7 separate regions of the Homo sapiens genome follow, and regions 2, 3, 4, 5, 6 and 7 are each linked to region 1. The links are contacts of gene promoters, found by promoter capture Hi-C in blood cells and fetal thymus (Javierre and others, 2016). All regions are on one chromosome and are shown on one strand. Each heading gives the region's core, a stretch centred on a gene start or on the middle of the fragment in contact. The rest is flanking DNA. Distances are from core to core; before and after follow the strand shown.

What was found. Contacts are between HindIII fragments. The CHiCAGO score rates a contact against its expected background, and 5 or more counts as called.
Region 2: a contact is called between a fragment that was not itself captured here and the fragment with the promoter of RPS3A in region 1, in 1 of 17 cell types (fetal thymus). The highest score is 8.8, in fetal thymus.
Region 3: a fragment that was not itself captured here is called in contact with the fragment with the promoter of RPS3A in region 1 in 4 of 17 cell types (fetal thymus, naive CD8 T cells, total CD4 T cells and 1 more); the score reaches 10.6 in fetal thymus.
Region 4: a contact is called between a fragment that was not itself captured here and the fragment with the promoter of RPS3A in region 1, in 2 of 17 cell types (fetal thymus and naive CD8 T cells). The highest score is 9.1, in fetal thymus.
Region 5: a fragment that was not itself captured here is called in contact with the fragment with the promoter of RPS3A in region 1 in 1 of 17 cell types (naive CD4 T cells); the score reaches 5.2 in naive CD4 T cells.
Region 6: a fragment that was not itself captured here is called in contact with the fragment with the promoter of RPS3A in region 1 in 3 of 17 cell types (naive CD8 T cells, naive CD4 T cells and total CD4 T cells); the score reaches 6.6 in naive CD8 T cells.
Region 7: a contact is called between a fragment that was not itself captured here and the fragment with the promoter of RPS3A in region 1, in 1 of 17 cell types (naive CD8 T cells). The highest score is 7.6, in naive CD8 T cells.

Annotation. Positions count from the first base shown.
Region 1 is chr4:151,098,299-151,100,994 of GRCh38, forward strand. It overlaps RPS3A (ribosomal protein S3A), which reads left to right and starts at 1,330. Exons shown (of 6, transcript NM_001006.5): 1 at 1,330-1,416; 2 at 2,187-2,290; 3 at 2,677-2,696. The coding sequence starts at 1,355. RefSeq lists enhancers at 240-309, 587-1,786, 1,085-1,669, 1,090-1,649, 1,670-2,253. The HindIII fragment of the contact is 1,842 bases long and covers 1-1,818 here.
Region 2 is chr4:152,528,937-152,531,632 of GRCh38, forward strand. The region is part of intron 2 of FBXW7 (F-box and WD repeat domain containing 7); the gene reads right to left. Among named protein-coding and RNA genes, the nearest start is that of FBXW7, 5.8 kb to the right of the region's middle. The HindIII fragment of the contact is 269 bases long and covers 1,224-1,492 here.
Region 3 is chr4:152,498,271-152,500,966 of GRCh38, forward strand. The region is part of intron 2 of FBXW7 (F-box and WD repeat domain containing 7); the gene reads right to left. Among named protein-coding and RNA genes, the nearest start is that of MIR3140, 10 kb to the left of the region's middle. The HindIII fragment of the contact is 2,847 bases long and covers 1-2,696 here.
Region 4 is chr4:152,462,741-152,465,436 of GRCh38, forward strand. All of the region lies in intron 2 of FBXW7 (F-box and WD repeat domain containing 7), which reads right to left. Among named protein-coding and RNA genes, the nearest start is that of MIR3140, 25 kb to the right of the region's middle. The HindIII fragment of the contact is 535 bases long and covers 1,095-1,629 here.
Region 5 is chr4:152,409,645-152,412,340 of GRCh38, forward strand. It overlaps FBXW7 (F-box and WD repeat domain containing 7), which reads right to left. Exons shown (of 14, transcript NM_001349798.2): 4 at 1,659-2,228. The coding sequence starts at 2,159. Among named protein-coding and RNA genes, the nearest start is that of FBXW7-AS1, 73 kb to the left of the region's middle. The HindIII fragment of the contact is 8,756 bases long and covers 1-2,696 here.
Region 6 is chr4:152,390,215-152,392,910 of GRCh38, forward strand. All of the region lies in intron 4 of FBXW7 (F-box and WD repeat domain containing 7), which reads right to left. Among named protein-coding and RNA genes, the nearest start is that of FBXW7-AS1, 54 kb to the left of the region's middle. The HindIII fragment of the contact is 2,255 bases long and covers 176-2,430 here.
Region 7 is chr4:152,371,791-152,374,486 of GRCh38, forward strand. All of the region lies in intron 4 of FBXW7 (F-box and WD repeat domain containing 7), which reads right to left. Among named protein-coding and RNA genes, the nearest start is that of FBXW7-AS1, 35 kb to the left of the region's middle. The HindIII fragment of the contact is 1,843 bases long and covers 472-2,314 here.

The sequences.
Region 1 (2,696 bases), core at 80-2,579:
AGGGTTGGTTTTGGCTTGGTCACAGGGTTTTCTGCCAGAGGGGAAGTTAGAGAAGGGAACTCAACACACCACTGGCTGAGTACCAAGCCTGTATGGGCCAGATGCTTTCCGAGGGCTGCACACTTGAGCTAGCCAGCCACACCTTGCCAGGATGTGCTCTGTTAACCCCTACAGTTAAAAAAAATGGGGGAGGCGGGTTTGGATTAGTTGCAAAAATGGAAACATTTGGAGATCTCACTTTTTTTTTTTTGACGCAGTTTCACTCTTGTTGGCCAGGCAATGGCGCGATCTCGGCTCACTGCAACTTCCGCCTCCTGAGCTCAGATTCTCGTGCCTCAGCCTCCCGAGTAGCTGGGATTACAGGCACCCACCCGGCTAATTTTTTGTATGTTTAGTAGAGACGGGGTTTCACTATGTTGGCCAGGCTGGTCTCGAACTCCTGAGCTCAGGCGATCCGCCCGCCTCAGCCTCCCAAAGTGCTGGGATTACAGGCGTGAGCCACCGCGCCCGGCCAACGCCCTGCTAATTTTATCATTTTCTTGTAAAGACGGGGTCTGGCTGTGTGGCCCAGGCTAGTCTCCAATTCCTGGCTTCAGTTGATTCCCCTGCCTCAGCCTCTTAAAGTGCTGGGATTACAGGTGTGAGCCAACGAGTTCGGTCTCACTCTATTTTAAAAAAACCTTTTAATCAATATATAACAGACATATAGAAAAGGACACAAATAAGCGTAGAGCTTAGTGAATGTTCACAAAGCAACAACACCTGAGATGAACCAGCATCCACATCAACAAGCAGAACGTCGCTAGCATCTCTGGAGTGATGCTCATTTAGCCCTATGAAACCTCATGAAGCCGACCGTTTTATCACCCCCATATTACGCATGAGGAAACAAGCGTGGAGAGGTCGGTCTCAAGCAAAGCCCTGTTGAAACCGGCATTTGAATCAGATCCGCTGACTGACTCCAAAGCCAATGCTCTCAAAAAGCAGGTTTGGGGGTTAGACGGTGAGTTCAGCTTTGAACGATGTTGAGTGGGCGTCTCGTTTTACAGAAACTTACTTCCCGACGTCACAGCCACAGAAACCACAGGTAACCAGACGCCTGCACGTCAGGCCACCGACGCCTTGGTCTACACAGCGCAGCCTCCAGTGAGCCCGCGGCATGCCGCGCGGCCTCCCCACACACGATGGCGATGTCGCAACCACAGTAGAAAGAGTGGCGCTCTCTACTGTCCCGGAATTCTTGAGGCCGGAAGAATAACAGGGCAAAGGTCACGTAGACGGCGCGCCCCGCCCCCGTACGCCTAAGTTCTCGCGCGACTCCCACTTCCGCCCTTTTGGCTCTCTGACCAGCACCATGGCGGTTGGCAAGAACAAGCGCCTTACGAAAGGCGGCAAAAAGGGAGCCAAGAAGAAAGTGTAAGTCGCGACTGTCGTGGCGTCTTGCTTTTTGGGGGTCTGCTGGAATCGGCGGGCTGGTCCTAGATCGCGGCGTAGGCCGGATGGCGAGGATTCCAGTCGGATTGTGCGGGCCGTGGCGGGTTGGTGCACCCAGGAACGCGGCCTGGAGGGTCGGTGTTGAGTAGCGGCAGGTCGGCTGCCTTTCCCAGGCCTTCTGGTCCTTGCGCGCGTCGCGTTTGAGCCGGCTTGCCGGCGCGACTCGGCTGGAATGTTAGTTTTGTGGGCTCACGAGCTGCCTCAATTCTGCGAGTGTTTGATGGCACTGCGACAGCAGGAGTTGAGGAAAGCACCCTTCTATCCATTCAGGACCCGTCAATCTCGCCTTTGCTTGGTCCCGCTGGAATCTGCGAGCTCCTGCTAAGCTTTGGGGCCATGCAGTCTCTTAGTTACCAGTACATGCCATTACGTGCCAGCAAAGTTAATGAGATTGCATGTTACTCGTGCCTGTGTAGTGGAAGGACCGATGCATGTTATTCTAAGTGCCTGTGTAGTGGATGGACCGATGAGGGTGGGAAGTGGACATAACCTTTCAAAGTCTGATGCATGCAGTGAAACGTACAGTGGGAAGAGCTAGATTTATGTTTGTTCCCCTCACCTCACTGTGAGATATACTTTGGTATCAAATTGCCGGTTAGCTTTTTAAAATATTAATGGGAAATACCATTAACAGTGAAAAATACAGTAAGAATTGATCTGCAATGGAACTTAAGCATCTTCTTAAAATCCAGGGTTGATCCATTTTCTAAGAAAGATTGGTATGATGTGAAAGCACCTGCTATGTTCAATATAAGAAATATTGGAAAGACGCTCGTCACCAGGACCCAAGGAACCAGTAAGTAGCTTATTCTTGGTTTGTATTTTCCTTAAGTTGGCGCTTGTATATTGTAGCAGGCATCTTGGTCTGTTGTTGGTCCTGTGGTGGGAGACTTTAAGGAAATGTCAGCTCTTGGTTGCAGCCTTGGCACCTGTGGTGATCATTTTTAGTACAGCACTTGGAGAGAAGCAAGATGGTGCTTTTTGAATTAAGAAAATGTGCCATGGGTAGTTCTGAGCTTCAAATAAGTACTGTTGATAAGTCACTGGTGTCTGGATAGATTTGATAACAAAGGTTAAGGTCTTTATAATTTACCATTAACTTAATTTCTACCCTCAGTTTACAGGCTTGACTTTGCTTATATGGTTCCTAAATGTTAAGATACTTGTTTTTTTCTTTTGTAGAAATTGCATCTGATGGTCTC
Region 2 (2,696 bases), core at 108-2,607, 1.4 Mb after region 1:
TTTGTGTGTGTGTGTGTGTGTGTACATTTTCCCCCATTATACTTAATGGGGGAAAGTCTAAGAACAGGACAAATTAACAGCAAGAATTCATTATTTAACAGCAACTTTACTCATCTTTTTGTAATGACAATTCAGTTACACTAAAAACATACACATTTTTCCCTGGTCCACTCAAAGTATCAACAAACTGGAATAATTTCTGTTTGGAGTATTTGCAGATAGAAGATGCACACCTTGTGTCTTTTAAATTGCCACTCATCCTTAGGCTTGGGACAATGATAAAATTACTTGAAAAGACAAAAATTAAAAGATTTTTTAAAATAATAAGGAAATAATCCTTTCCAAATAAATAGGGAAAGCAACTTTATAGTGACCTTCTAAAAGATGTACTAACATTGTCAGATTATATACTCTTTTTTTAAAAGGAAGAAGAAAAATTAAAAAGTAAATTGTTAGTTCAATTTAAGTAACAATATGTAGAAATACTACATATAAACTAAAAGCAGGTTTCAAACTAACTAAAAAGTGATCATTATTGCAAGAGTAATCTCCACCCCTGCCATAAACAAGGGAATCCTAAAATAAATAGGATTTATGAAACTAAATATACCATCATCCAATGTTGGTATCTGCTGACATATGAAACAAATATTTTAATATTAACTGTAATGTAAAATTGCACAAAGTGAATTACACTTTCTGAACAACACATGTGAGAAAGATTCACTCTTAAAAATATAGCAATGCTGGCCAGGTGTGGTGGCTCACGCCTGCAATCCCAGCACTGAGGGAGGTCGAGGTAGATGGATTACCTGAGCTCAGGAGTTAAGAGACCAGCCTGGGCAACATGATGCATGGCCTTTGGGGTTACCTGGTGGGTGCTAAAACACACACACATATACCCTCGAGGCTCTCTAATTCCCTATCAATCCAAAAGTTGTTACCCATCTCTATCAAAAATACAAAAAAATTAGTCGGGCATGGTGGCGCATGCCTGTGATCCCAGCCACTCGAGAGGCTGAGGTAGGAGGATGACTTGAGCCCAGGAGGTGGAGGTTGCAGTGAGCTGAGATCACACCACAGCACTCCAGCCTGGGTGACAGAATGAGACCCCGTCACAAAAAAAAAAAAAATACACACACACACACACACACACACACACACACGTGTATATATATACGTGTACATATATATATATACGTATATATATGTATATACATCAAAGCTTTTTAAAGTACACATTTAAATGATTTAAGTGATTTGTTAATATACACTAGTACTTGAAATTAACAAAACAAAAATTGCGATGTGTAATTCTACACACTGAATTAGCCACTGCAAGAGATTAAGACTTTAATAGATAGCAGTATCAAACTTTAATGCTCTTATAATTTGACTCATATTATTCAAACCAACCATAGACACTTCTAATTTTACACACGAAGTAAATGCTTTACATTTATTTTCAGAAGGTTTCAAAAGTATGCCCACAAGCTTCTTTACAGATACTTTTGGCCATGATACAAAGCCAGTATATCACTAAATGCCAACTGTGGTTATCTTTAGATAAGAAATGCAGGTAGTCCCTACTTTTTAGCTGCATCCCTTTAAAGATGGTATCACCCCGACCCTCAATCCATAGTTTTCATCACCATGAAGGCAAAAGTATTTTGTACAGTAGAGTATGTGCTTTATGCAGAATCATTTTAAATGAACTCAGAGAAAAACATCTCATCTAGAAAACAAAGACCACCAAAAATAGCCAGTCCTGGCTTTGTAGTGTAATAAAGCTCATACTGTTTGTTGGTGGATTTGGCAGTTGTCTATACCAGGAGTCCAAAAACTTCGGCCTATGGGCCAATTGGAGCACGGCAACATTCATTCACTTCCTTGTTGTCTACAGCTGCTTTCACACTATAAGAACAGAATTGAAAGTTGTGACAGATCATGTGGCCTGTAAAACCTAAAATATTTACTAACTGGCCCTTTACAAAAATAGTTTGCCAACTCTTTCTCTACACAATGAGATGTCAGAAGCACCAGAAGACTTCTCCAAGAACCATCTCCAAAGTACAATGAAATGAGCCTATGCATGGCCTTTGGGGTCATCTGGTGGGTGCTAAAACACACACACACACACAAACATATACCCTCAAGGCTCTCTAATTCCCTATCAATCCAAAAGTTGCCAAGGCAAAGTACATGAAGTTACCACTCTTCCCACTGTCCTCACTAGTAAATAACATTAACTATAAGTGGCTGCCTTCTAAAATTCATCTGAACATGGCTTCGACTGCACAAAAAATGTTGTGGAAAGTGGAGGATGACAAGAGAAGGCCTCCATATGGCATATAATCCAATCCCTATATTTTCACCCTAGAATCACCTTAGACCTATCTCCTTGTTGAAACATCTCTTCCCCAGAGTTTCTGCCATTTGAATAATCACTGTTAAGAAGTCAGAGAAGCTACTAGGAAGGTGCAGAATTCCAACTAAGGAACACAAAAAAGTGTGAATATATATTTCCTTCCTCACAATCCTTAATCCTGTTAAAGTCAATACTAAATGCAAGCCGCAAAAATGTCTACATTTTTTTAAATGCCAAGTTGCTTTTTTTTAATAAAAAGTTTAAAAGGAAAAAAAAAAAAAAAGCATGTTCAGCACTACTGTGCCTACACAGGGATATCCCCTCCATT
Region 3 (2,696 bases), core at 119-2,618, 1.4 Mb after region 1:
AGAAATAGAAGGCTTTTGTCAAGGCAAAAAAAAACTCATAAAACATTAAGAAGACAGTAATTCAGAAGATATGATCACCTACTAACGAAAACTACTGAGAGGCAAGTCTCAGACTCCTTGAGGAAGATGGAAATTGGGCCTCATGGCCAGACTATGCATCTAACTAGTTTATTATCTCAGCTCATTCAGCCTGGCATCACTGTGATTCTCAGCAACTCTCATCACTATATATTATGAGGGTGACTGTGCTGAACCTTGAATCTAATAGGTGCAAGACATTCTGTTGGACAATGCAAGCGATATAAAGAGGCATAGTACTAGTTTTCAGGGAGCTTATCATTTAGTGCGGAAGCTAAGATGCATACAGAAAAACAAAACAAAACAAAAAAACACCTTGCACTTAATGTCTAAACAAGTGCTACTGGAATTCAGAGGAAGAAAAAAATCCATCAGGCTGCTGGGATGGTATAAGAAAGGTTTCATAACAATAGTGGAGCTCAAGCCAAGTAGCAAAGAAGAAAAAGCAATTCAAAAGGTACAAAAATTGGCATTCCTGGTAAGAAAAAATGACAGCAAAGGATTGCAGAGCTCTAGGAAGGGAAAAAATAGAGTATAAGTGCTTGACAATTTTTAGATCTCAATTAGAAAAATAAAATATTTTGACGATAAATAAAATCTTTAAAGTTAGACGATCAATCAGGGCTCTAAGCTATAAACAGAATCTATTTGAGGTGGTTTCAAGAGAAAATAAATTTATTAATATATTAGGGGATTCCAAGAATTATCAGAGAACTGAAGAATCCACTTGGAGATATGATGCCAGGAAAAATACCTAAGTCTCCCCACCAAATTGTTCCCATCCTTCAGCCCTAGTACCATGAAAGCTGAGCCTAGGACAACAAGGCTCACTAGTATCTCTGTCACTGCTACCTCTAAACAGCTCAATATCTTGTCACTCAACATGCACATTAGAAAGCAATTCCAGGCAAGAGCTGTTACCCTGCATTTCTCTGACCCTGAATTCATGTCTTACACAGATGCATCTGATCAATAAAGCCTAGGTCATATGCTTGTGCCCTAGCTGCAAGGAATACTAGGAAATTGAGTTCTGACTCTATAAAACATGAACATGCAAATTTATCCAACATTGAGAGGCTATTTGAAATGAGAAACCACAAATACAGATCAAGTCTATGCTTCCAATCAAGATCCTCAAACCTGACAGATTATAACTAAGCCTTGTACAAACAAGACTCTCTCTGTTCCTCATATGGAGGTAAGAACCAGAGACTTATCAGTTATTGCACACAGCTCCAATATCAGAATCTCTCGGTGATATCCCCCTCCTTCCTGTTTTCTCATATAACCCATGAAGTAAACTGCAAAAAGGGGGCAGCCTCCTGAGCAGCCAGGACCACAGGCTCACGCAGCCATGCCCAAAACACAAAAGTTAACTTTTGTGTTTTTTGTAGAGACAGGGTTTCACCATGTTGCCCAGGCTGGCCAACTCACTCTTATGGTAGTTCAAGTAAGGCCTTCTCCTATGAGACCTAAAATTTTTTGCTCATACAGATAAAGTAGGATCTTAATAGGCTTCCTCTCTATTTTAGACGTAGGGATCCATGATCATTTAGTCACAGCCAAAAAGAATTCAAGTCAGTGCATCTCTGATCATCATGCCTGTCAAGCTACCTTATGAAAATGATGCCTGGACCTTACCTAGAATCTGGCCACACCCCCTGAAGTAAAAAAGACAATTTCAATGAAAGTATCTCCTCCAGCCTACAGACAAAAGCAATTGAATTACTTTTCATATATGCTGGCACTGCCCTCAAAGTATTTCTCATTAGGTTGGTGAATGAAGTGTCTTCCAGACCTCTTAGTAGAGAATACTGGAGAGGGAATAGGGGAGGTAAGTGAATGGTCACAGTGATAAATCCACTCCATCAGTTCTATTTCCTTTAATCTTTTGACTTCTTCCTCTATATTATGCTATGAGTTTTTAGGCATTCAACTTCATTTAGTATAAGTCAATGCTGAGACCAAAGGAGCAAACAATTAGAACCACTCCTGGCTACTTGAACGAGAACAATGAATTCAGAATCTCTGATAACTGCACCATACCAATACATTCAGCCAAATGCAAAAGCATGTTTCTTTCTCTCTCACATCATCATCATCACCCATTTCTGTACATATTCCTGAAGGTTTTGCTGCTTTGTCAGCAAAAAAAAAAAAAAAAAAAAAAAACTTTAAAAAAATTACATATAATCCTTTTCTTCCCATTGTGACTGCAAAGGTGCAGCATGATATAGTCTGACTCCAGTTACAGGTATGGAAACATGAGTATCGTGGGAAGGGGTATGAGGAAACTAGCTTCCCCATGGATGGTAACTGTCTTAAGCAAGGTTGTTAACACAGGGAAGGATGGCTTCTGCTAGCAGGAGAGACTCAGAGTTTGGAGACTTGAAGTACTATGTGTCCGCAATTCCCCATATACAGAAATGTATTCAAAAGATTATTAGCAGCCAAAAATATCACATGTACAATTTAAAAAGTGGGTATTTATAAATTGCAATTCTGTTTCCTCATATTTTCTTAAAATTAAGCAACATAAGATTTCTTCTATTTGGTTTTGTTACCATGCATTTGATTAATATTAATTATCACAACTTCACACTAAGATCAGGCAGCAT
Region 4 (2,696 bases), core at 112-2,611, 1.4 Mb after region 1:
GCTGAAAGATGGTTCACTCAACCACTTCACTAGCATCACTGCATTCTTAAAAGAAGAATCTCGAAATTCTAATTAATGAAAAATTTCTCACATCCTTGATTTCTATTCCTTCCACCAAGTTAAAATCTTTACCTCATCAGACAAGAATTTGAAGTACTCCCACTTCCACTTCCAGTCTTTTTTTTTTTTTTTTTTTAATCTCACATAGTACACTGAGTAATTTCTTGTCTGGTATATTACTTGTATCATTATAAAGAATGTTTTTGGCTGGGTGTGGTGGCTTATGCCTGTAATCCCAGCACTTTGGGAGGCTGAGACAGGTGGGTCACTTGAGGCCAGGAGTTCAAGACCAGCCTGGTCAACATGGTGAAACTCCATCTATACTAAAAATACAAAAATTAGCTGGGCGTGGTGGTGGGCGCCTGTAATCCCAGCTACTTGGAGGCTGACGCATGAGAATCACTTGAATCCAGGAGGCAGAGGTTGCAGTGAGCCGACACATCACACCACTGCACTCCAGCCTGGGCGACACAGTGAGACTTTCTGTCTCAAAAAAAAAAAGAATGTTTTCTGTGAAAACTAGGAAACATGTCACCAGAAACTTCGTTGTAAGTTTAAACTCCACCATTACCCACAAAACCATAAGGAAATCACAATCTCTGTGATTTTTATTTCCACCATCTGCAGACAAAAATGTCATCTTCCTCATTAGTCAAACTTAGGACCAAAATATGACAACTAATATTAACAAGTGTAGACAAGAAGTGGTCAGAGATATTACAGGGCTTGTGACATGAGAATAGGTGGACAGTTAAAACCATTATCTTAAGAAAAAAAAAGACAGATAAGGAGTTAGTTCATGATTCAAAAAGCATTTACTTAGTTCCAACCATATAGCAAGCATTGTACAAGACAAACTTTCCACTGGGAAATAACAATTTTGGGGTGCTAAGGACCTGGCGACTGAGAAAGTGGTAAAACAGGTCACTAAGAAAAATGTGGTATTTCTGAGTCATCAAATTTGTGATAATCTACATAATGAACACGAGACCATCTCCTCAAAATGATGTGTAATGAAAAAGAGCTAAGAGCAAAGCTTCAACCCAATTTATATATAAGTGGTATATAAAAGAAGAAAGCAGTAACAAAGAAAACAAACATTTAGCCAGAGAGAGGAGAAAAACCATTAAGGTTTATTACAGAAGACAAAGGAGAAGTGAATGTTAAGCAGCAAAAAAACAAATGCTAAAAAAGACAGGAATGGATGAAAAGTGAAAAGACAAAGATTTAGCCATTTGGAACTCAGTTTTATCTTGGAAATAATAGCATGTTTACGGCCAGATCCGTCCAGCTAATGTTTATCTACCTAGTTAAGTAAGAAATGTGTTTACTTACACTTAAGAAAGCTGAACACTAGTAGAAATAATAGTCAAACTTCAGAAAGTAATTGAGTAAGAGTTGAGAAATTGGAGACACCTAGAATGGACTATAACAACCTTGGAGATAATGGGAAGGAAGTAACGTACTTTTCAAGATTAAGTCTGATAAGGCAGAGAACCCAGCATGGAGCATTAAGAGGAAGAAAAATAGTAGAGGAAAGAAGGGCTAAGATTAAAAACAGAGATAATAAGCTTTTGAAATGAAAACACTTTATTCTTTAAGACAGACTGAGGAAAAAGGGTATAAAATATGAAATGAAAAAGGAATAAGAGAACTAGGGATAGGACTGTTCATTTGAGCACAGTAGAATGGTTCCAAATAACTAACATGCAGAATGAAACAGATCAAAAAGATAAAAATTACCAGGAAGGAACCTGCATAAACTAGGAAGGGAAAATGTTAATTTGTACTAGAAACCTCTCAAGGCAGGAAACTGATGAAACTCTAGCAACGCTAGGCAGCACATGAAGAGGAAACAAAAGCAGAAGAAATGAACAGTTGTAATTAATTAAAATGACAGACTAGAAATTGTGTGAAGACAGTTAAAGAGATTTTGGAAATCTCAGGTATTCAAAATAATAAAGTCAAGACGTCTATGTATGTGGCTTAATCTGGATTAAGTTTTTCATTAAAGAAGTAAATATTGAAAAAAGCTTTTAAGAAATATTCTCTGCAATGATGTGATTACTGCAATAACTTTATTGGAAGAAAAAGGGGTCAGTATTACTGTTCAATGATTTGCAGACATTTGTGCAAAAACAGTATTGGCAATTAGAATAATCCAAGTCCAGTTGAGCCTTTCTGAGTAAGATTAGTAATCAAAGATCCATCTAATGAAGAACAATTTAATTGTTCTATTCATATAACCAGAACCAGTATCTCCAAGGTGTATTATTGGTCAGCAGAGCAGCAAAGCAGGACATGACCTGAGAAGCTGTGCTACCTATTATATATGGAAGCGACTATAGACTCTAGTGACAAATTAGTGGTTTAAAGGGTACTTACCTTCAAGGAAAAAAAAAAGTCTCTACTGACATCAAAACCTTATTTAAAATATAAATACTTAAAGAAAATTAATGTATACTCAATTATTATGATAGTAAGCACACAGAACAAGAGAAGGGAAGAGGAAAGAATCGGATATAAAAGCTATTTTGCCTTAATTCAGCCATAAATAGGTCACCAAAATCCTCTTAATTACCACATTTGATATAAACAATTGGAGGTAGCTCTCAATTATGTCTTTTCCTTACTGT
Region 5 (2,696 bases), core at 106-2,605, 1.3 Mb after region 1:
ATACTTACGAAGGCAGATCATCTCATGATCAACAATATATCAAAAACTATACATACACACTTATATAATAAATGCATACACACATCTATACTGTACATGTGTATATACATAAATGCATACACACATCTATACTGTACATGTGTATATACATAAATGCATACACACATGTATTCCTTCTATGGTTAGAGCCCAGTCCATTCTTGTTATATGTACAGGACAATAATTGTTATTCATGATTCAGAATCACTAGAAAAAAACTAACAAATTCAGTATACTTCGTTTTTAAAAAGGTAATCATCATACACAAAATTTTACATCTTGAAGGTAAAGAAAAGATAAAGCACCTGTCAAACTTGTGAACTGGAAGGTTTCCTACAGAATATAAGGATGACTTTTCCTTTTGGAAAAAGATAATGTTTTGTCTAACTAGCTTTTTTTGCTTTTAATTTAAAGTGTAGCAGAAATCAGCAATAACTCTGCATTGTTCCGCAAGGCTTAGTTTTGATTGAACCTCTTTCTGAAATAAGTTAGTGCAATTGGACCTTAAGTATTAAACCCCTATTCCTCTAACTGAACCCTCAGGAAAAAAAGAGATGTTAAAACTCCCTTTTGATATAGCAACCTTGAAGAAGATGATCAAGACTAGGGGGGCAAAAGGGAGGAATGACACTATAAAAGGTCTGAGCCTTAACAAAGTGGTGCTATAGTTGTTAGTGGTAGAGCCATCTGGCTGAGATCCAAAGCTACTGCTTCAACATCTTGAGACAGGGATGGTACAATGGATGAAAAATCACTACTTGATGTCACGTCCTTCTTAGATCATGCCAGCTAAATAAAATCTGACTTGCAGATAGGCTAGGTAAATTAGGGCCAAACACATTTTAGAAAGTAAGGTTTTACAAGCAGATGTAAAACATGATTTAGCATTTCAATTATTATTAATCCAAGTGTGTAAGATACTTCATTCCAAGTCAAGTTAGGTTAAACGATACGATGTTAAATCAGTTTGTATATTGTTTATGGCCTAAAATCACTGTAAAATGTAAGAAATAAGCAAGTAGGAGTAAGAGGATGAACTACCACAGACATTATGTTAATGTCTATAAAACAAGTATATTCAAGTTAAAATGTTCCTTTCCAAAACATAGTTTAACTTGTAAGTCTACTCTACATGAATATTCATTATTTCTAATTCTCAAATGATAAATAACTAGAACTAATTTGAGGCAACTTCTGAGTAATTTATGCCTTAGAGTGACACTTGTGAATAGCCCACTCTAGCAGCTGCATTTTGTAAATAAAAAGTTTCTTCATTACTTGATTTACACAAATCATGTTTCACCCGAAACCTCTACACCCCACACAAGCTACTAATCCCTGCCCGGGACGCAAGGTTTAGACGAAAATTTGATGTTAATAATTTTTCATAGTAATAGGCTCAATTACTTTCCCTCCATTTGTACTCAGATTGTCCCATTATCAGTATTTCTACTTGTAATACTTTCCATTACCTTCTGTAAGACAAAAAACTAGTTCATTTTATTATTACACATCTTAAGATTAATTTTTAGTAATACAAAGACTGTGAGGAAAGTTTCATTACAATTAAAATAGATATGTAAAGTTTCTCAGGTTAACAATATATTGAATATACTCACTTTTGTTGTTTTTGTATAGAATGGGGAGGAGAGTTGGTGAACGGGCAGGTCCACAATACTACTGGAGTTCGTGACACTGTTAGTATGTGTATGTTCATCTTCTCTGCTACTATCATCAGACTGATCAAAATCGTCACTCTCCTGGTCCATCTCCTCCTCCTCCTCATCCTCCTCATCTTGTTCACCAGCATGTTCTTCATCTTCCTCTTGTTCTTCTTGGTTTCCTGAGGAGTCCTCATCTACCGAAATAAATCTATTATTGTTTTCTTCCAACTGTCCTTGCTGGGAATCATTTTGGCCTCCAGGTCTAGGTTCTACTCCAACAACTTCACCATTCCTTGCAGTGTGCTCCTCCTCTTGTTGTCTGAGTTGCTGTTGCTGTTCCTCCTCTACCACACGATTCATCTGTTCTTCATCTACCTGGCTTGAGGAAGGGTTACCTCTCAGAGAGCCTCCAGTTCGTCGTCTTTTGCTGCCCACAGAGAGCAGTTCCTGATTCATTTCCAAAAGCCAGCTTGCTACTTCTTGGACCTTGGCTAGACTATCAGAAGATGCAAAGGTTTTCACATTCTGCAGGGGAAAATAGGGTAAAAAACAAGATTTGTACAATCTATATTATGTTCTACTTTCATGTTATATGTCTACTTTCTAAATATCATTAATGATTGCAAAAAAGTATTGATGCCACCAAGGCATTAAAATGTTCTTTAGTAAACAATATAGAACATTTCAATTTTAAAAGTTATAAGACTTTATAAAGACATGCACAAAAACCATAGTAAACAACACTAATCCCTTTTAATAATTTTTAGCATGAAGATTTATAGTTTAATTCCTTTGACCAATAAAACATAATATTTCAAGCAAATAAAACAATTTTAATTTTACATCAGTAGTTCATAGACTATATCCTATATAAAACTTCCACAAAATTTTAAGAAGTGTATCAAAAAAAATTTTCAGTGTTCAGTTAATTTGGGAAATGCTGAGGTAAATCAGATTAAAAGGCTTTTTACCCTGGGTATTTCCCAAACTTTT
Region 6 (2,696 bases), core at 53-2,552, 1.3 Mb after region 1:
TATTTGTGCCTAAGAACTTTAGTTGTTAAAATACTTTTCCTCATCCTTTCATTAAGCATTTTAAAAAGTACTTAAGATAAAACAAAAATCCAACTATCCCACTGAATTTTCTAAGTATTTCAGAAATGCCCAGTATGAAGTCTTCAATGACTTAACATAACCTGTCTCATGATTAAGCTTAACTCTTACAGGCTGAGCTGGGTTACCCCAGCTGTTAAAATGGCCTTACACAGCTGCTCACCAAGAATTTAGTTCGTGATTATTATAGTTACACCTTTAAGTCAACTATGACAAAAATGACACAGTAATTACAGGTATTTCAGTCATGCAAAAAGCCTCATGTAATGACAGAGTAAGTGATTTAAAGTAACCTAATTTTCCATAATTCTCAAAATAAAATTTAAGTCTAAGAAAGACAATAACTTCTTTAATGTCAGTACTTAAGTCCATAAACAGTTTAAACATAACAGTTTAAACTTTCAGTTAAAATAAATTAAACATTACTTACCAATAATATCTTTCTCTTATAAAAATTCTTAAGAGTATTGCAGGCCAGGGAGTCATAATACTAATTATACTAATAATTAGGACTAAGGAAATAATACTAATATTCTTTTAAAATACAGTAAGTAATTGTGTGTTTTTTTGCTACACAGCTTTAAAAAATTAAGCTATAATGCAGAAGGCTCAACCAAATTGACAGTTTGACAAATTATAAAAATTTATCTTATGAAAAATAAAAAGCTACACTTATGGAAACATAAAAAATCTGAAGGAGTGCTGGTGCTTTAAATAGGTAAAATAGGAGGGGGACATTATTTCCTATACTGTTGAGTTTCTGATGCAATTATAAATAAAAATCAATATATTTTGAGAAAGATAAACATAGTACCATACTTCATTTATATAATTTTCAGTAATGTGCTATGCAAGTATGTGAGATTTATTAATATTAACTGAAAGTACTTCAGCACAGAATTTAAGTATAGAATTAAAGTACAGAAAACAAGTATAAGATTAAGCAATAGAAAATACATATTTAGAACTTAATTCTTGGACGGGCTGACAGTTGATACCACTGGCCTTTTACGCTGTCAATATTACATACTCAAAAAAATAATTTTTCTGAAAAATATCAATGTTATTTTTTGTAGCTGAGGTTTAAATTAAGCTGAGAGCCTAAGTTTTCATTCTTTACAGTAAGTAAAACACTAACTGGCTATCAAGAAAAATTAGAAACAAAGAAATAAAATTCAATTCCTACTATTCTTTAGTATGCCTGTAATACAAAGATCTTGGGATAGAAAGATAAATAAGTCTAAGGAGACTATCAGAGATCAGTAAGAGATATAAAGGAAGTCTGCAGCTATAGGGCTTAGAAAATACGTACGCATTGTTTCAGACTGGAACAATGATAAGGGGAAGAGATTAAACACTGACAAGAGTTTCTACTAGATCATGCTTTGTATCACTTAATCACCACGCCGAAACCCTGAGGTATCATTATCCTTGTCTACTTGTTACAGACAAAACTAAGGCTCAGAAAGGCTTACAAATTTGCCCAAGGTAACACAGCTGCCAGGTAGTAGAGTTGAGATTTTAACCCTGGTATGTCTAATTCCTAAACCTGTGCTTTGTAACAGAACATCTATCCAATTCCACAGAATGTTACATCCTAACTTAGTTGTGTTACTTCCTAAATTAGTTGTTCGGAGACACTTCTTTGTCAGTGTTTCAGATATGTAAGTTTGTCAGATATAAATGAGTTCTAGATAACTGAAATAAAGTATTGTATAAGACATTTACATATTAAATATGGAATGTTTTAATGTGCCTGATTTTTATGAAGCCCAAATTTAAAAAAAGAAACAGGAATAACATCAAAGATATTATGAACTCTTATAGCAAATTGTATTCTCAAAGGTAGTCACAACGCTGTCCCCCATCTTGCATGCTCTTCTTGCAAGGTGACTCTGAGACTCCTTTCACTAAGAGGGAGAGGCCATGTCCTCTTGCCTTAATAACAGGCCAGACCTTTGTGACTGTTTGGACCATTAGAGATAGTAAAAATGGTATCATGTGACTTCACAGGCTGAGTCATAAAAAGGAGATTCAGCTTCCACCTTGCTTGCTGGAACACTCACTTGGTAGTCCTGATGTGCTGGCTAAGTAGTACCTTCAGGCCACCATGCTCTGAAGAAGCCCAAACTAGCCCAGGTAAAAAGACCGTATTATATAGAGATGTTAGGAGATGATACGGAAAAAGAATTTCTGGGTCAGCCCTCAGCTGTTCTAGACCCCCACTTTTGCACCTCCAGCCATGATCTGACTGCCACCCAGAGTTAACAATGGCCAGATCAGCCCTCCTCAAATTACAAACCTATAAGAACAATGAGAAATAATAAAATTCTCGTTTGTTATAATCCACAAAGCTTTGACGGTGATTGGTCAGGTGACAATGGATAACCGAGACATCTTATAAAACAAGGAGCTCTAAGTTGGTTTATAGTCATCCTAGTGGAGTGTTAATTTTACAATGTAACAGGAATGGAAAGGACAACAGGTGATTCAAAATGAAAACGTTAAGTGATCATCTTGAGGATGGCAAAATTTTGGGTGACAATTTCCCACCTTGACACTCAATGGAAATGAGGCCTTAGCAAGTTTCTATTTTCATAATAAAACTTTTTAAAGAG
Region 7 (2,696 bases), core at 143-2,642, 1.3 Mb after region 1:
GCAGATGCTTATTTGTTGAATAAATTAATTAAGCCATGTTCATCTAATTTTGATATGTGACCATGAAATGTGGATGATGAGACAAGTCTCTCAGAGACATGAAGGCATTTGTGGATTCCTTAAGGGAAAGGTGTGCTGTCTTATTCATCTTTGTAACAGTAGCAACACACACAGAGAGTATGCATACTATATATCAGCAGATTAAAATTAATTTTGTGGTGTTAATTTCCCATGGAAATACTGGGACAATTAAAAAAAATGTGGTTGAGGTTCTCTACACTCATTTAAAGAATAAGTCTATTAGCATGAGCTGTATTTTAATCACTGAAGAAAAGTAATATAAAAGCTCCAAACTATCATTGTATTATATGGTTATAATAGCCTATAATTAGGTTAATAAACTTTAGGTACTCATCTATATATGTATGTTTTAAAGTATTTAATATGCATGTACTCAGAGACTTAAGATAAAGCTTAGACTACTCTGACATTTCAAAGTGTGTTCAGTTTTTTATGAGTGGGTGACAGTTGTAAAACTCTAAGGTCTCTGGATTTAGTTCCATGCTCTTGGAGACAGCTGTGTTCCTAAATTCAGAATATTTTGAATTGTAGAAAGGTAACAGAGTGCATATACTATTTATTACAGAGCACTTCCAGTATATCACACATTAGTGTTTCTCCAGCAAAATATATGAATATTCAGATAAATAATAAAGATGACTGTTTTATGTTAGTTTGGGTTAGGTTTTGCTACCTTTATTTTTAAATTTTCAGTTTTCAGAGCATGATGGATTTCTGCTTTGCAGACAAGGGACTGTGGACTTATTTCACACTTGTTTACCTTGCCAGGAGCTTAGTTCCAAGTTTATTTTTAGCATATTTTTCATCTGTCTTCTATATTACAAGCCTCAACATTAAGTTAGTTTCTGTAAAACCTAACTTAGTTTATATTTACAAATTTAAATAGCCTTGCCCTTTGATGTCAAAATTATACAAATTGTTACCTAATTAAAAATTTGTTACATAAAAGACAAAATCATACAAGTTGTTTCCATAGTGTAGTTACAGATTTATAAATCATGTGCTAAGTCGCTTTGTACTCCTATCTGACAACTAGGGCACAACCCAATACTAAAACATCATCTGATGACAAAAACATACAGAAGGCAGTATTATCAGTAATTAGATATTGAGACCATCATAAATTGTTGGGAAAGGTGAGAATTACACATTTAAAATTCCAAGATTATATGGCAAAAGTTAACCCTTAAAACATTTGGACACTAAGGGTCTGTTCAACAAATGCCTACTCCAGATCCGTTTCCTGCAGTGGCTGTGATGCTGGAATAAGACTGCTTGAGTTAGTGTCCTAGCTACATTACTTACTAGCTAAGGGGCAAGAACCTTCCTATGCCTGAGATTCCTCACGTGTAAAACAGGTAAAATACAATACAACGTACTTCACAAGGTGATTTTAAGGATTAAATGAGTTTATGTATAGAAAGTAACTAGAGTAGTGCCTCTTCTACATCCCAAATCATACCTTATTCTATTACCCTATTTTACTGTCATCAAAATATTAACAGTAGTATTTATTTTCTGTCTCCCCAAACTACAATCTAAGCTCCATGAGGGCATGGCCTTTGTCTATCAAGTTCACTGTTATATCTACAGTTTCTAGGAAAGTTCTCTACTCTAGGTGCTCAATACGTATTTTTTCAACATTAATAAATTGACGGCAAGATGTAATTTGCAGCAGTATACTTAATATGAAAAAACATAAGACAAGACACGATCCCAAGCAATGATACAAGTTCCCTCTATCACTCCTCTGATCACCTACTTAGCAAACATCTTCATGTTTTAATTCAGGGTTACTGTGAAGCCCTTCCTGAACCACTCATATTGAGCTCTGAGTGCCTCCTCATACTCTGACAGTACTTTGTACGTAGGTCCATTTAAGCAGTTATTATTTTGTACTATAATGGTTTGTTTGTAGTTTTATCACTGTGACTTTTCATTTGTGCATGGGCATGGGGGATCATCATCTTATTTATAGCCGGTGGCTTGCACAGCACAGAGAATGCAAAGAAAACCGACAATTACATTGCTTACTCATGTTGATGCATGATGTGTGAAACATTCTTAAAGAGAAAAAGACCAAAGGATCTAAAATAGAATGGTCTGATATGTGATAACTGACAGTAATTAATGCCTTTATTGATAAAGTAAGTAGTGACCATAAAAAACACCAAAGGATCTGGAAATGTTTATATTTTCCAAGTACCAATGGAAGATATATGCAAGTAAGAGAAGCTTAGAAAGCCACATTTTAGTTTCCTCACTCAAAAACAAACAAACAAAAACAAAACAAACCAAAAAAACCCCACCACAAAACAGGTACCCTATTAAATTCCCTCTCTAAATTTGCTCATACCACCACCCTATTCTTTCTTCTCTTCAAAGTACTGTATTTTTTTTCTCTATTTCAGCATTTTCTGATATTTAGGAGCTACTCTAGACTCCCAAAAGTACCACCTAAATGACTATACCATGTGTGTTTCTTTTTCATTTTCAAAATTAGTACATAGTAATTACTTTTAAAATTAAGTGTCAAACTGTATCTGAGTTTCGTTAAATTTAGAAAATGAAATATTCAAAATCACAGCTGCACAGTCACTTAAAAACATTTAGTA